Linked DNA regions of Homo sapiens: region 1 is linked to region 2. Evidence: promoter capture Hi-C in 16 types of primary human blood cells and fetal thymus (Javierre and others, 2016). All regions are on one chromosome and are shown on one strand. The core of a region is centred on a gene start or on the middle of the fragment in contact, and the rest is flanking DNA. Distances in the headings are between cores, read along the strand shown.

Region 1 (2,770 bases), core at 107-2,606, 74 kb after region 2:
GTGTGTCCCAGGCCAAGGAACTGAGTCCCACTCGAGTCTCACTCCATTCATGCATTGACTCATTGCTGGGTCATGCCCCTTGCCTGGGTGGTGTGAGCCACCCTGCTTCCAAGGCTTTCAAAACACCATACGCTGATGTATTGTTTCTCATCTATTGCTGCGTAACAAATTGCCACAAGCTTAGCAGTGTAAAACAACATGCATTTGTTATTTCAGTCTCCATGCATCAGGAGTCCAGCATGCCTTAGCTGGGTCTCTGCTCAGGATCTCACAAGGCAGCAGCTGGGGTGCTGGTGGCCCGCATTCCTTCTTGGAGCTCAGCAGCCTTTTCCAAGCTCTCACGGTAGTGGGCAGAATTCAGTTCTTTGTGCTTATAGGACAGAGATCCCTGTTCTATTGCTGGCTGTCAGTTAGTACCACTCTTGATTACTACAAGCTGCTCAGTTTCTTGCCACATGGCCCCCACAGGGCCTCCCCAGCCTTCTCACAATATTGCAACTTATTTTGTCAAGGCCAGAGGAGAATTTTTCTGCTGCTTGGAGTCACTTGGCTCAGGGAAGGTTTAAGCTCTCTTTTAAAAGCCTCTCCTGGCTGGGCATGGTGTGTTCATGCCTGTAATCCCAGCACTTTGGGAGGCCAAGGTGGGTGGATCACCTGAGGTCAGCAGTTCGAGACCAGCCTGGCCAAATGGTGAAACCCCTTCTCTACTAAAAATACAAAAATTAGCCTGGCGTGGTGGCAGTCGCCTGTAATCCCAGCTACTTGGGAGGCTGAGGCAGGAGAATCACTCGAACCTGGGAGGCGGAGGTTGCAGTGAGCCAAGACCAAGCCACTGCACTTCAGCCTGGGCGACAGAGCAAGACTCTGTCTCAAAAAAAAAAAAAGAAAAAAAAGGAAAAAGAGAGAGAGAAAAAAAAAGCCTTCCCTAATTAGGTCAGACTCACCCAGGAAAATCTCCTTTTTGATTAGGCATCAACTAATGTGGGATTTTATATCTGCAAAAAATCCCTTCACCTTTGCAGTATATTGTAGCCTTATAAGAGTGACAGCTGTCATACTAGATTTGCCCACACTCAAAAGGGAGGAGGCTGTCTAGGGCAGCTACACCAGAGACTGGGAATCTTGGGGGCCATCTTAGAATTCTGCTTATCACACACCTGTAATCCCAGCACTTCGGGAGGCCAAGGTGGGAGGATTTCTTGAGTCCAGGAGTTCAAGACCAACCTGGCCAACATAGCAAGACCTAATCTCTAGTAAAGTTTTTTTTAAAAAAATTAGCCAGGCACGGTGGTACACACCTGTAGTCTCAGCTACTTGGGAAGCTGAAGTATCATAGCTGAGAATTCTCAGGTCTACATCTCCATCCCAGACATGACTAGACTAGCTGCCTTCTTGTCATCTCCACTGATATATCTAATTGGCACCTCAAACTGGACATGCCAAAAAATGAACTGTTTCCACAGTGCTCCCAAGCCTGCTTCCACAGACCACATCTGCACAGCTGATGTGAAATGAAAGGCTAAAGCCTCTCAGTTATCCTTGATGCCTCTTTTCCTCCCAGCGCCATCTCCCTTATACCCTGTTGGCTCTACCTTCAAAATATGCCCTGTGTCTTGTCACTTCTCACATCTTCCATGGCCTCTGGGTCCAGGATATAAGGGCATACGAAGGGCTCCTTGCGTTTTCCTTTGCCCCACTCATAGTCTTATTGTCCACACAGCAGCCGGAGTGATCTGGTTAAACTGTAAATCCCAGCACACCCTGCCACTGTTCAAAATTCTCCAAAGACTCTCATTCAGTAGAAGCCAGAGTCCTCAGCATGGCCTGCAAAGCCCCATAAGAAGTAGCCTGTGGCTCAGCCTCGGCTTCATCTTCTACTTTTTCTGTTTCTCACATGCCCAGTCACACTGGTCTTGCTGTTCCTCAAAAGTGCCAATCACACTTCCGCCTGAAGGCTTTTGCACATGCTTTTCCCTCTGCTTAAGATACCCTTCCTCCGGCTGGGCGAGGTGGCTCACGCTTCTAATCCTAGCACTTTGGGAGGTCCAGGTGGGTGGATCACCTGAAGTCAGGAGTTCGAGACCAGCCTGGCCAACATGGCGAAACCCCTTCTCTACTAAAAATACAAAATTAGCTGGGCGTGGTGACACATGCCTGCAGTCCCAGTTACTCAGGAGGCTGAGACAGGAGAATCACTTGAATCCAGGAAGCAGAGGCTGCAGTGAGCTGAGATCGCATCACTGCACTCCAGCCTGGGCAAGACAAAGCGAGACTTCACCTCAAAAAACAAACAAAAAAATACCCTTCCTCCAGATAGCCACATGTCTTACTTCCTTCAGGTCTCAGCTCCCAGGGCGCCCTAGAGTAGGCACAGGGAGTACCTCACAGTGTCCTCCCTGACCATCCATATAAAGTAACATCCTCCATAAACTATCCTGTTACTTTGCTTTATTTTTCTGAATAGCATTTATCACTATCTGGCATTTATCACCTGTAGTTTTTACTTTTTGTCTCTCTCTCTCTAATTTGTATGTAAGCTTCATAAGGAAGGAATGACTCTGGACTGGACTCCATGCCTCAGCACATTCACCCACCCATTCAACAAACATTCTTAAGGGTCTAGGCTGGGCATGGTGGCTCATGCCTGTAATCCCAGCACTATGGGAGGCCGAGGTGGGAGGATCACTTGAAGCCAGGAGTTTGAGACCAGCCTGGGCAAGGAAACAAGACCCTGCCTCTAAAAAATACAATTTAAAAAAGTATCCAGGCA
Region 2 (2,832 bases), core at 229-2,728:
CTTATATTTATGACATCCAATGGACTGTGCATGCTGTATGGAAACAAGGAGAAAATAAATGTCATCATTGCTTAACAAGTGAAGGGTAAAAAGACAATTAACTCACTGAAGACTACGCACAGAAACACAAAAGCCTTTGCTTCTGTGGTTATAGGTTTACCAAAGGCACAAAGGGATTTGTATTTATTTTAGGATTATAATTTACATCACTTAGTTGGAAAAATTACAGATTTTAAGATATTTTTACAAATCTGAGTGACTGTAAAGACTGCTAAAGTCTTGGGACATATTCTTACCAAGTCCCAGATCTTTTGTTTTGTTTTGTTTTGTGCCTGAAATCAAACCAGGTTTTTTAGACCAGGAAAACGTGAGAAGCTAGAGCTGCTCTACTCAGTTGGCCCAAACCAGGACTCCGGAGATTATTCCCTTATACAGCAGGCACCACATTAGAGAAAGGATTCTGGAAAAGTGAGCTGGAACAGAAAAGAACTGTCTCAATGGGAAACAGACTCCAAAGGACGCTATTGGGGGGAGGAAAACACAAAATATTTCTTGAGAAGAATGTGGAAATGGCAAAGTCTCTAGCCTCCAGAAACCTTAAACTCTAGGGAAAGAAAGCAAAAATTTAGAGGTAAGAGTGTTCATATTAAAATTCAAACAATAAGTAGTTTTTCTATAAACTCTCTTTTTTTCTAATCATGAAAGTACACATAATCATTCTCTCCAAACTCAGACATTTTAGACAGATAGATAGATAGATGACAGATAGATAGATAGATAGATAGATAGATAGATAGATAGATAGATACACATGCATACATACTACATACATATATACCTACATATGTTGGCACATAGATGTTCCTTTACCACAGATTAAGTTATTCTAGATGCATATCTTGTAGCCTACATTTTTATACATTTTCATCATTTTAATAACTGCATACTGCTCTATTATATTCTGTATTTTCTATATTAGATTAGATCCATGTTTTATCACCATTTAGGTAGCTTTTGGTTTTCTGTTACTGTAATGTTGAGATAAACGTCTTTATGTACTTGTTCAATTATTCCCATTAAACAAAAGCCCAAGGTACAAAGTTTCTGAGTAAAAAAATAGGCACATTTTAAGGCTTCTGATATATATTGCCAAATTGTGCTACAAAAGAAAAACTGTACCAATTAACACTCCCAGCAACAACGCCAAGAGAATGCTAGTTTCCCCACATCTCACCAACACTGTCTAGAACGCATAGTTTTAGAGATGAACGCTGGGAACCGACGCACTGTTTGCTCTACCTCTCCCCCTCCTAACAGTCTAGAACACAGGCGCTCAATAAATCAATCCAGGCTCCAGTCCAGTAGACATTCTGATCTAATCTGACTGCTCTGGGTAACAGAAAAGTCTCCCTTGGTTCACTGCCCAGTATCCTGGCATCATGTGGATCCTATAAAGGCAGTAGCTCCAAGCACATTACAGAGGGACCCAACTCCATTAAACCACCACCAGCTCCCCAAGCCACCCCTTCAGCCATGAAGTTCCTGCTCCTGGTCTTGGCAGCCCTCGGATTCCTGACCCAGGTGATCCCAGGTAAACTGGATAAATAGGAGGAAAGGAAAACTGGGAACGAGGAACACTAGCATATCTGGTTGCTCTGGTGATAGATGAGCCAGGTTGGGTGGAGGCAGGGCTCACCCCACTGAGTTCCAGTCTAAGGTAGAGATCTCCTAACAACCACCACTAGCCTTGATATCCCACACCCAAACACCACCCTATATAACCTTTACAAAAATTTGTTTTCTATTCTAAAATGATAGTCACCCTCAACCTAAACCAAAATATCTTCTTTCACTTTATGTGAGCTCCTTATATCTAACCTCCTAAGACACACTGAAGGCTTCTGTCATCACCATGTGCATCCATTGAGATCAGCCCGGGTTGGAGCTCAAAGGAGATTTTGAGCCTAGAAGGAAGAGATTGAGGTTCCCATCCCTATGCTCAACAGACAGCTGGCAGGTGGGGGATGGAAGCAGACCTCTTAGAGGGCTAGTTCCCACAGGATGGTAAGCAATGGGTTCAGCTCAAACCCTGGGGCTAGGAGATAATGCAGGGTCAGAAAGAGAGAGAGACAGACACACAGAGAGCAGGGAGAGAGAGAGATCAGAGGAGGGCCAGGCAACGGATGTGAAGAAAGCCAAAGAGGCTTGAGGGTGCTCCGAAGAGGCCCCTGCTGTGAGCCAATGGCAGACACAGAGCACTGAGGCAAACAGATTTCAGCAGATGGTGAAATGGTGCACAGCACTGGGTGAATGCAAAAATGCCCTGTCACTGGCAACCGTTATTTTCTTTTTAATGATTTTGGAGAAAGATTTGACTCCTCCCACTTTGCCCCAGGTTGACTCATATTTACAGTTTTAGAGTCTATGAAAACAAGTAAGGTAGAAACACCTTAAAAGGGAGCCTGTGGGGTGAGTGAGACTAGCCCCATTTCTCCCTTTTGAGTATCCAAGCTCCTCCCTGACCGTGAAGACCAGGCTCCCCACCCCTGTTTTTACCCATACATCCTATTCTGTAGTATCAAATTTAGCAAAAAGCTTCAAAGATGCAGATACTGGCAAAGAAGAAGAGCTCGTCAGACAGAGTTCCCCAAGGCCATCAATCCAGGAAGATTTTTGTCTCCTCATCACTGGCTTTCCCAAGTCTCATTTGCACAACATCCTAAGGATACACCTCAGAACAAAAAGCCAAACACTCCCATCTGGCGCTGACGCTTTAGTAGCCCTGTGCTGCTTCTAACCATGACTTCTCTGTCTTGTCCTCTCCCATACAGC

What was found. The method cuts DNA at HindIII sites, captures the fragments that hold promoters and counts their contacts. A CHiCAGO score of 5 or more calls a contact.
Region 1: a contact is called between a fragment that was not itself captured here and the fragment with the promoter of DEFB132 in region 2, in 6 of 17 cell types (naive CD8 T cells, total CD8 T cells, naive CD4 T cells and 3 more). The highest score is 6.7, in naive CD8 T cells.

Annotation. Positions count from the first base shown.
Region 1 is chr20:330,816-333,585 of GRCh38, forward strand. No RefSeq gene overlaps it. Among named protein-coding and RNA genes, the nearest start is that of SOX12, 6.6 kb to the left of the region's middle. RefSeq lists an enhancer at 1-104. The HindIII fragment of the contact is 2,358 bases long and covers 178-2,535 here.
Region 2 is chr20:256,246-259,077 of GRCh38, forward strand. It overlaps DEFB132 (defensin beta 132), which reads left to right and starts at 1,479. Exons shown (of 2, transcript NM_207469.3): 1 at 1,479-1,591; 2 at 2,832. The coding sequence starts at 1,534. The HindIII fragment of the contact is 5,497 bases long and covers 1-2,593 here.